Regions from separate parts of the Homo sapiens genome. Here all the other regions are linked to region 3. Evidence: promoter capture Hi-C in human tissues and cell types (Jung and others, 2019). All regions are on one chromosome and are shown on one strand. Each heading gives the region's core, a stretch centred on a gene start or on the middle of the fragment in contact. The rest is flanking DNA. Distances are from core to core; before and after follow the strand shown. Region 1 has its middle 8.9 kb from the start of SGPL1. Region 2 overlaps SGPL1 (sphingosine-1-phosphate lyase 1). Region 3 holds the start of PRF1 (perforin 1).

Region 1 (3,866 bases), core at 1,035-3,534, 200 kb before region 3:
GTGACTGCTACAAATTGGGAATGTAGGCTTCAGGCTACATTCATTCAACATGCATACAACTATTCAATGCCAGGTTGCAATATTCAGGACCTGGGATGGATCATTGAGCAAAACAAAGGGCCCTGCCCTCATGCAACTTACATTCCAGCAGAAGGAGACAGACTAATAAACAGAATAAATAAGTAAACTATATGGTAAGTTAGGAGATGCTTGGGGCTATGGAAAGAGAGGAAGCAAAGCAATGTAAGGGAAGCACAAAGTATGGGGTTTAGGACAAGATGTCATGGATACTGCAATTTTATTTATTTATTTATTTATTTATTTTTTGAGATGGAGTCTCGCTCTGTCATCCAGTCTAAAGTGCAGTGGCGCCATCTTGGCTCATGCAACTTCCACCTCCCAGATTCAAGCAATTCTCCTGCCCTAATCCCAAGTAACTGGGATTAGAGATGCACATCACCACACCTGGCTATTTTTGTATTTTTAATAGAGACGGGGTTTTACCACATTGGCCAGGCTGGTCTTGAATTCCTGACCTTGGGTGATCCACCCGCCTCAGCCTCCCAGTCATGAGCCACCATACCTGGCAATTTTAATAGCATAGTAGGGTAGTTCAACATCTCAATTTTCCAAGGAAAGACAGAAATCTAGATTTTTAAAAATTCTCTCAATTTTAAAATTATGATGTCCTAAGAGCCTGCCAGAGTCAGAGATTATTCTCACTCTCTTTGCAAGGGCTACTTTGGTTCTTTATGTTAAACAGTGGGAACAGTTCAGCACTCCAAGAAACAGAGCCCACTTAAAGGGCTTGTCATTTACCCCTAGACTCAAGCTTCATATGTTACCAACAATGCTTTTCAGCCATCTGTGGAGAGTGCTTCCTTTTTCCATACACCCAAGTTGCTCAGAACTCCCATTTTCTTGGGGCAGACACAGGGGTTGCCTGCAGCCCCTCTCCTTGACCAAGCTCTAGGGGAAGCACTGTTGCTTCAAAGGGGAATAATGCAGTCCCTGGGGCAGAAATGAGGCTGATCATGACTTCTCTCTCTCCTCTAGGCGCTGCAGGCAGGGGCAACAGGCAGGTCCCTCTTTATTCTTAATCAACAACAGGAAATAGAAAGCCAGCATAATTCTGGATAAAAACAGCCCATAATTTTATAGGACTATGTGGTTTTCTTGTCGCAATGTGCATAATTTATCTTGTGACCACAATGTAACTCACTGAATCACCTCTGTTTGTTAATTCCATCTTTTTCCTCCCAAGATAGAAAGGGGGAAAAAAATCTCTAGTTGTATGGTATTGGTCAAGAGATCTAAAAGATCATAAAGTGTAATACGACCAAGGAACTCCCAGAACTTTGGGCAACTCATTCAGTTGTTTTGAAGATTTTTTAAAATTGGGATACATTGTATGTACAGACAAGTCCACAAATCAAAGTGTAGAGCTAGATGAATATTGACATAGTGAACACCATTGTTCAGCACCACCCAGATCAAGAAACAGAATGTCACCAGTTCAATTGTTTTTTAAATAAATGCAAATGCAGATGGCAATCCTCCTGTCTGAGACCTCCCAGTCCTGTAGGAAACAGTGTTTTGATCTTCATCCAAAGAGCAACAGCCGTTGAGGTCTTTTCAGTCAAGGGACTGACAATATCACATTTGTGTTTTAGAACAATCCGTCTGCGTGGTATGGAGAATGGCTAGGAGAGAATTCATATGGGCAGAAAAGGTACTCAGCAAAGAATGAAAATAGTTGGTTCTAGGGTACAACAATGGCATAAGCTTAGAAGACAGACCTTTGGAAAGTGACAGAACAGATTAAAACAAGACTCCCAAAGCCACAGGCTACCCTGTGCCTGGCAAGCAGGCTCCCACATGTGCCCTCAAGCCAAGATTCCCAGGGAAGAAGTCACATTCAGAGCTCAGGGCAAACTAACCCATAGCTAGTGGGCTACACCTTTAACTTGTTGCAGCTGGATTGCGGTACCTCTCCCTTAACCACAGGATTCTTTCTGACTTGAAGGTTGTTTGGCAGAAGTAACCAGTAGAGTAATTGTGTTCATGCTGATGCTATTTCAATTTATCCTAAGTGCTATGGGTTGAACTGTGTCCCCCAACAATCCATGTGGTGAATATGGCCTTACTGGAAAATAGGGTCATGGCAGATGTAATGAGTTAAGATGAAGTATTACTGGAATAGGGTGCACCCCTAGCCTAATATGACTGGTGTCCTTATAAAATGGGGCAATTTGGACAGACATGCATAGAGGGGGAGCACCATGTGAAAATGAAGGTAGCAATCAGAGTGATGACTTTATAAGCCAAAGACCATCAAAGGTTGCCAACAAACCACCAGTAGCTAGGAGAGGGCCATGAAACGTGTTTTTCCTCATAGCTCTCAGAAGGAACCAGCCCTGCCAACACCTTGATCTCAGACTTCTATCTTGCAGAAATGGGAGACAATCCATTTCTGTTGTGCAAGCCACCCAGTTTGTGGCACTTTGTTACAACAGCCTGATTAGCAAGCTAACACAAATAGATTCTCACGCTAGCCCCAAACCTCAGTAGGTTGGCAATGGAGGAATGGGAAGGGCAGGGTGACATGACCATTCTCAGTGGCCTCATGTGCCCACTGACCACCCAAGTGTTGGGGCAGTGGTGGGGACTTGGAAGCCTGCAGAGCCCTCCAATAGCTGCTGCCAACTGTCTTTCTGGGAGACAAAGCAGCCTCAAGCTAGTCCTTGTGGGTCTGCTTGAGGGCACTGCTACATTCAGTTTTAGGGTATAAACCCACACCTGCCACTTAGGGACAGCTGTTGCAGGAGGTGCTGCAGAGGAAACCACTCACTCAGACATATTTCAAATGCCCACTCTTGCTATCCACTATCCATTGAATTCAAGTGCGTCAAATGTTTAAACCATGTGCCCTGGCTGCCCATCCAAACATCTAACTCAACATTCCTAGCTACTGCATCATCTTAGAACAAACTCAACTCATTTCATTTGAATATTCATATGAATCCCTTCAATACAGACATCATACAAGTCCTTTAAAACAAACTGTTTATAGCTAGTAGCCATCTCCTGACCTCAGCTGTCCCCCTCCAGGGAAAGCTTACAAAGTTTCTAGTTGGGAACAGAAGGCCCTTTGGGACTTGCCCAATGTTGTCTCAGGACATGACCTCACAACAGTAAAAACAAGTCAAAACCCAAGGCCTACTGGCAGAGAATCAGTTAAAGGACAAGCATAACTAAGTCAGCAGAGGTTACCTGGGCCTCACCCCAGCCTACATGGAAAGCACTTACCTGGTAAGCGCTCCGTAAATGGTAGCCCATAGCAATAATCATCTGTCAGTGGCTGTATTGATCTATCTGTGAATCAGATCATATCTGGAGAAGATAACCTTGAAGGGAAAGACACCATAAGAAGCCCAGTTAACTGAATGCCTTTCTTGAACTTGGCCACAGTGACCTCTACGATCAGCCGCTGCTTCTCTCCACCTTCATCTCCCCCATTTCCACCTCACTCTCAGACTTTATGTCCCAACTATACTCACAGTGACTATCTGGGATACTTTTGAAACTAAGGACATATTATTAAGTTTTCTGGGACAACAAGCATAAATTGGTCTGTTCTAACAATCTGAGTCTTCTAGTCTCCCTAGCCATCTAGAACAACTTAGAGTTTCCATAACATGCCCTGGGCTTTTATAGCTCCAGACTTTTGCATGTGCTATTCCCTTTTCTTGGAACATCCTTCTCTCCTTGGTCTACTTTGCAACCTTCCCCAAGACCCCTAGGTAGGCTCGAATTCTCTTTTCCTGTGTCTCCATTTCCCTAACACTTAGCACATTAAGTCTTAA
Region 2 (3,535 bases), core at 224-2,723, 230 kb before region 3:
TTTGATTCCCATGCCTATGTTGTATTTTCTTACAGACGGTGGTAATAAAACACACCTTAGTAATGAGCTATTTCTCAGTTTTCTAAGAGAGATGTTAAGTCAACTCTTAATCTTCAACAATCTATTAAATCAATCAGAAGGCTGCGAGTGCCCTCTGGCCTACCTATACAACAAGATTAAATCACTTACCTACTATCTTTACAGATCGTAAACCTGTGTGTTTTCAGTCATCCAAACAGACTGTTGACTCTTGTGGTCGTGATTGTTGGGAAAGCATTTGAAAACATTTTCAGAAAGGGCTGGGTAACAGAGTCTTAGGCTTTCTTCCACTCTGGCCCAACACAGCCAGACAGGGAGCAGACTTACCCTGGCATCCTCATATTTGCCCTCCCCAGCGCCCTTCAGGACACTTCTGAAAGGCATCCCCTTTCAGAAGAATGTGAAAACAGAATTTCCAATTTGCCTCAATTGTCTCAAAGACTCGGTGCCATTAAGACTGGAATTCAATACAGAATTGATCTATTCCTTTTTAGACCCATCTGTCAAAACGAATTCAAAAGAATGGAATTAAATGCTTCAGTGAAAGCCTCCAAAAAACATGGTCCCCCAATATTGAGTATAAAGTGTTACTACAATAGCCACTTAGAATCTAAAGCATTCTAGAAGATTATGATTTTAACCTGAGAATTAACTACTACAAATATTTTAAATTCTGCCCTTAACAGGGTCCTTTTCATACTCAAAAAGAACTAAGGTTGCTTTGTTCCCATCAATTGTGTATTAACATTTACAGACTAGATAAACAAGAATGCAGTAGGCTTTACTCTCTGGGGAAATTACAGAAAAGGAAGGGCATTTCACATTTTAGAATTGCTTGTACAGGCTGGGTACAGTGGCTCACACCCATAATCGCAGCACTTTAGGAAGCCGAGGCTTCTCAATGAGGATGGTTAGAGACCCAGAGTTCAAGGCTGCAGGAAGCCATGATCGCACCACCGCACTCCTGCCTGGGCAACAGGGTGAAACCCTGTCTCCGAAAAAAATAAAAATAAAAAATAAAATAAAAGTGCCTATACAACTTCAGGAAAGAGTTCTCAGTGCTCTTCTCCATGTGTGGTATGCAGATGACAGAAATTTAACATTTGCTGCCCAAAGCTAAATCAAGAAGTTATATATTAAAACTCTGGTAGCGTAAATTAGTACAACCACTTTGGAAATCTGTTTGGCAGTACACGTTACCACACAGCAACTCTACATTTTATGTTTACCAAGACATGTTCAAGAAGGCAGCAGTGTCATTCACAATAGCCAAAAAACTAGAAACATAAATGTTCTACAACTACAGAACAAATTAGTTATAATATAGTTATACATTGTAACACTACACAGCAATAAGAAAGAAAAACTAATGCTACCTAAGAACATGACTGAATCTCACAAACACAATGTTGAGCAAAAAGGCCACTCACAAAAGAGAATATACTGTATGTTTCCACTTTATGTAAAGTTCAAAATCAGCAAAACTAAGCAAAACCTTTGGTAGGTATCAACTGGGAGGGACATTAAGAAGCTGGCTGGAGTGCTGGAAATGTTTAATATCTTGATCTGGAAGTATATTCATACATAAATATTTACTGACCTGGATAATTAAGATTTGTGCCCTTTACTGTATGCAAATTGGACCTCAAAAAAAAAGCCCTATGATTTTTTTAAACTCAAAAATGACTCATTCACTTTATGGGATAACAGAACAAATCGCTGATACATAAAGCCTGAATAATGGGCTAGGATTGTTCTGCAGTTTCTGCCTATACTAACAGGCAACTCATTCATTTATCATACATTTGAAGTTTCCTATTTCATGACAAAAAGCTGATGTAGCTATATTATGTCAAAAAGCAAATTATATGAAAAGCTCAACTTACAAGATGTAACAATTTTAAATCTGAATGCACCTAGTAACAAAATCTCAGCAAATATACAGCAAAATCTATTAATAATAGAACTAAAAAGGAGAAATAACTGATAAGGCATATGACTTGAAGAGGCAGCCACAAAACAGAAAATCCAAGTGGTTGGTAAACATTGAAAAGGGTACTTAACCACATCAGTTATCAGGAAATGCATACGGAAATTACAATTACATTTATCTGCTTACCAGATTGTCAAAAAATAAGCTTTATAAATATCAGGTTTGCCAAGTTGGGTGGAAATAACTCTCATATATTGTTGATAGTGGTATAAATTGTATTGGCCTCTTCAGAAAAGTTTAGCAATATCTAGTGAAGTTAGGCATGTATGCCTTTACAATCAGCAATTCCACTCCTAGGCACAAATCCCAGAAAAACTCTTGCACTTGTGATCACTTGTTATATAAGAACGCTCATAACAGCAATGTTTGAAAAAGCCTCAAATTGGAAACAACCCAAATGTGAATTATAAGTCAAATGGATAAATAACTGCAGTTTAGTCACACAATAAAATACTATATATACAGCAATAAAAATGAATGAACTTAAACTACATGCAATAACATGGATCGCATGAATACTGAGCAACACAGGAAAATCACAAAAATAAAAATACATATGCATCCATTTACATCAAGTTTAAAAAAAAACAAACTAAACTTAGGATGCATACACAGGTGGTTAAAACTATTTTTAAAAAGGCAAGGGAATAATTATAAAAGTCAGGATGGGGTTATCCATAGAGGGGAAGAAAGGAAATATTTGTAACAGGGTGAAGCGTAGAGTTAGAGATAAATGGTTTATATCCTAATCTGGTATCGTTGTTTTATTATTGTTCATTAAAATGTAGATATGTGCTTTCTATACTCTTCTGCACGTATAATAAATTCCAAAATAATTTTTAATTAAAATGGAGGGCAAGCCCTTCTTTTTCCGTTTCCTCTTCCTCTTCATGAATGAAACATGAACCTGACAGGTAGAACCCCAGGCAGCTACCCTGGCCCAGGAGGGGATGCACTACTGATAGCGGAATGACAGACAGAAGCAGCCTGGCACCTCAAAGACTCAGGAATGGCCTTATCGGCATGGAATGGAATGGGAATGAATGGAATGGAATGGAATTGTACTGGCATTGCATTGTATTGTATTGTACTGTAGTACTGTATTGTATTGTATTGTTGTGTTGTGTTGTATTGTATTGTACTGTGTTGTAATTTTTTTGAGAGAGTCTCACTCTGTCGTCCAGGCTGGAGTGCGGTAGTGTGACCTTGGCTCACTGCAACCTCCACCTCCCGCGTTCAAGCGATTCTCATGCCTCAGCCTCCTGAGTAGCTGGGATTGATTACAGGCACCCACCACCACACCCGGCTAATTTTTGTATTTTTAGTAAAGACGGGGTTTCACCACATTGCCCAGGCTGATCTTGACTTCTGGCTTCAAGTGATCCGCCCATTTCGGCCTCCCAAAGTGTTGGGATTACAGGCGTGAGCCACCGCGCCAGGCCAGTTTTCTCTTAAAGAAATATATTTATGTCTTTTAAAAAATCTCTATTACTTTAGGTTTTT
Region 3 (3,855 bases), core at 1,322-3,821:
GCAAGTCCACTCCTAGATATATACTCAGGAGAAATGGAAACATATGTCCACACAGTAACCTGTACACAAATGTTCATAACAGCATTATTCATAACAGCTAAAAAGTAGAAACAACCAATAAATCCATCAGTTATGAATGGGTAAACAAATTGTGATATGTCCATATAATATAATATTATTCAGCCATGAAATGGACTAAAGTACTGATACATGCTACAACATGGATGAACCTTGAAAGTATTATGTTAAATGAAACAAGCCAGACACAAAAGGCCACATATGCTATGATTCTTTTTATATGAATTGTCGAAAATGGGAAAATTAACAGAGAGATAAAGTAGATTAGCGTTATGAAGAAATGAGAAATGGCCAGGCACGGTGGCTCACGCCTGTAATCCCAGCACTTTGGGAGGCCAAGGTGGGCTGATCACTTGCAGATCAGGAGTTCAAGACCAGCCTGGCCATCATGGTGAAACCCCGTCTCTACTAAAAATACAAAAAAAAAAAAAAAAAATTAGCCAGGCGTGGTAGCGCATGCCTGTAGTCCCAGCTACTGGGGAGGCTGAGGTGGGAGAATCGCTTGAACCTGGGAGGCAGAGGTTGCAGTAAGCCGAGATCATGCCACTGCACTCCAGTCTGGGTGACAAATCAAGACTTCATCTCAAAAAAAAAAAAAAAAAGAAAAAGAAAAAGAAAAAGAAATGAGAAATGACCACCAGTGGGTATAGGTTTTATTTCTGGAAAGTGATGAAGATGTTCTAAAATTGACTGTAGCGGTGGCTGTACAACTCTGTGAACATACTAAAGCCATTGAATCATATACTTGAAATGGGTGAATTATATGGTATGTGAATTACATCTAAAGATTGTTGTTACTAAAGAAAACCATATACATGGTGTCTGGTGATTGAACAAATTACGCACTTGTTGAAACTTGTGTCTCTGAGGAAAAACTCTGCTTAATGCACATTCAAGTGTCAAGTTTCAGAAGGACAGCTGTCATCAGTTAAACGAGTCAAAAACAGTCATCACCCTCAATGTCATTTCGGCTCTTTAATGGATCCCCTAACAACCACTAGCATCTCTTGGGCATTAGCCACTTCATAAGCCACTTGAAACCTGCCAAGTGTACATTTTATCATTAGCTGGAAGGATGTGTAGAATTCCAAAGTCCTCTCTTTGATTTTATAGGTGAGGAAACTAACGCTCAGAAAGGGGGTTGATATCTATCGCCGTGAGGCATACGGTAAGTTTCTGGTGAAGCTGGGATCAGAACCTGTTTAGACTTTGCCTCTCTTTTCCCGCAGATACTTTGCAGGACTTCTATGTCCCTCAAACCGGCCTTCCTGTCATGGTCAGGAAAGAAACTCCTCACAGCCTCAGCATCCAAGTCAGGCCATGGGTGACAGCTGGAAAGTGATCAGGAGGCTGCAGTTTCTAGAAGAGGGTGGGGACACTGCGGAGAGAAGATGGGGCCAGATTCCGAGAAGACAGCATAAGCCCCTGTTCCTGTAAGAGCAGGGACGGAAGCAGGGACATAAACGCAAGGGATGAGCCCCAAAGTGTGACCCATGAGACATGATGTCACATGTGGTCTGGAGCCTGCGGCCACTTCTTCCCATCATATACACAGTTATGAGAACAAGTTGTGAGAACCACCTCCTCCCTTACCCAGCTGCCCCCACCCCAGAAGCCGTGTGATTTTGCCCCCCAGTGCCCTGTGAGTCACTCCACCCATGGAAACCTCACCCCACCCTGACCTCAAGCAAGGCAGAGTGCAGAAGACATGTCCTCCGGTGCTACCAGACCACTCTCACCAGCACCCACGACCTCAGCAGGGCTGGAGCCAGCGTGGAGGCCACTGGCTGTCCTCACAAAGCGAGGAGCAGGAGCCCCTGTTCGAGGAACATGCTTGGAGTTCGGAGCCTGGGCTAGGGTGGGATGTAGGTTGAGCAGGAAGTGGATGGCAAGATTAGAGCAACATCTCTCTTCTCCCACTCAGGGAGGAGGGAATGGCCACAGGCTCTGACACTCAAGAAGGGCCAGGCACAGTTCCAAGCACTTCACAACAACCCCTAGGGTCTACATGACCTACAATCCCAATTGTTCAGTGAAGAAACTGAGGCACAGTGAGGCTGAAGAACCCTACCAGTCCACACTGCTGGTGCATAACCGAGCTGCCCAAGCCCCGGCGGTCTGGCGTGTAGGCCCATGCTCTGAGCCGCCGCCTCTGCTTGCCTCTTACATCCCACACATGCGATGCTGTGCATCAGAAGCAAGGAGATGGCCCTGCTGGCCTGTTCATCAACACCAGGGCCGAGTCTCAAAGTCCTCAGCGCCCCGCCCTCCTCCGCCTGTGTGCCCTGAGTCCCCGAGCCCCAGCAGCTCTACTCGGCAGATGAGCCTCTGGCCCTGCTGCTCGCTTCCTGAGGGCTGTCAGTGGGGAGCCGGATGAGGGCTGAGGACAGGGTGGGTGCTTGTGGGAGGGGAGAGCACAAAGGACCTGTGACCACAGCTGGGGGCGGGGCAGGAAGTAGAAGTGATGTGAGTGGTGGCTGGTGCAAGGAGCCACAGTGGGCTGCCTGGGGGGCTGATGCCACCATTCCAGGAGCCTCGGTGAAGAGAGGATATCCATCTGTGTAGCCGCTTCTCTATACGGGATTCCAGGTAAGGAGAGAGCAGGGATTGGGGGGCCTGGGGCCCTGGGTGGAGGGGAAGAGGCTGATGGAGCAGGAAGTGCTGTGACCTATAAGACAAGACACCTGGGTCACAGACGGTGCCCATCACTAACTCGCTGGGCAGCCCTGTGTCCACCCTGGGCCTCAGTTTCCTCATGTATGAAATGAAGAGGTAGCGTGCAGTTTCTAAGGCCCTGCAAGTGCTGACATTAAAGCTTCTAAGAAAGCTGGAAAGAGGCTCCCTGGGACAGAATACCATGAGAGTCAGGATGAGGGCTGAGTTCACTGGATTAGGGTTATGACTGTGCCCGCCTCCTAGCTGGGATGAGCCCAGGGCCTTTGAAGATTCCCCTGGCCTCTTTGCCTCCCTGGGGCGAGCCACGCTGCCTGAAATTCCACCCTTCAAGTCACACCTTTGGGCAGGGCAGGAGGCTCCAGCTATAATGGGGGCTCTCCATAGCCCTCTTGTCTCAGAACCTGTGGTACCCAAGGGCAAAGGCCTTTGAAGAGCTCAGCTTGGATAAGGTTAGGCTTGGGTAAGGTTAGAGAAAGGAGGTTCCAGATCATAAACAGGCCCAGGCAAGGCCCCAGAAACACCTTAAAATTAGGAAGAACCTTCCAGACAATCATTGTCCATAGTAGGCAATAGGGGGGCCCCTGTCACTGCCGAAGGCCACAGAGCTTGGCAGGGAGTGGCAAAGAGGGGAGGGGCAGCAAGAAAGGATCTGAAGAGCAACCATCGAGGCCTCTCCCCACACAAAATCCAAGGGTGTGGTCAGGTCTGCCCCTTTTTTTTTTTTTTTTTGAGGCAGAGTCTTACTCTATCACCCAGGCGGGAGTGCAGTGGTACGATCTTGGCTCACTGCAACCTCCGCCTCCTGGGTTCAAGCGATTCTCCTGTCTCAGCCTCCCAAGTAGCTGGGATTACAGGCACCCGCCACCATGCCCAGCTAATTTTTGTATTTTTAGTAAAGAGGGGGTTTCACCACGTTGGCCAGGCTGGTCTCGAACTTCTGACCTCCAGTGATCCACCTGCCTCTGCCTCCCACAGTGTTCGGTTTACAGGTGTGAGCCACCACACCTGGCCAGGTCGGCAGATTTTATTCTAGAATTCGGGCTGATGTTATTCCATAAAGCTCAGAGGGAGAGCCCCAAAGGGAAAATGAGAAGAATAGGT

What was found. The method cuts DNA at HindIII sites, captures the fragments that hold promoters and counts their contacts. A contact is called where the count stands out against the background at its distance.
Region 1: a fragment that was not itself captured here is called in contact with the fragment with the promoter of PRF1 in region 3 in 2 of the 25 tissues and cell types used here (adrenal gland and heart left ventricle).
Region 2: a fragment that was not itself captured here is called in contact with the fragment with the promoter of PRF1 in region 3 in 1 of the 25 tissues and cell types used here (adrenal gland).

Annotation. Positions count from the first base shown.
Region 1 is chr10:70,805,095-70,808,960 of GRCh38, reverse strand. No RefSeq gene overlaps it. Among named protein-coding and RNA genes, the nearest start is that of SGPL1, 8.9 kb to the left of the region's middle. The HindIII fragment of the contact is 4,615 bases long and covers 1-3,866 here.
Region 2 is chr10:70,825,839-70,829,373 of GRCh38, reverse strand. The region is part of intron 2 of SGPL1 (sphingosine-1-phosphate lyase 1); the gene reads right to left. Among named protein-coding and RNA genes, the nearest start is that of SGPL1, 12 kb to the right of the region's middle. The HindIII fragment of the contact is 4,688 bases long and covers 1-3,535 here.
Region 3 is chr10:70,601,457-70,605,311 of GRCh38, reverse strand. It overlaps PRF1 (perforin 1), which reads left to right and starts at 2,571. Exons shown (of 3, transcript NM_001083116.3): 1 at 2,571-2,667. The HindIII fragment of the contact is 18,183 bases long and covers 1-3,855 here.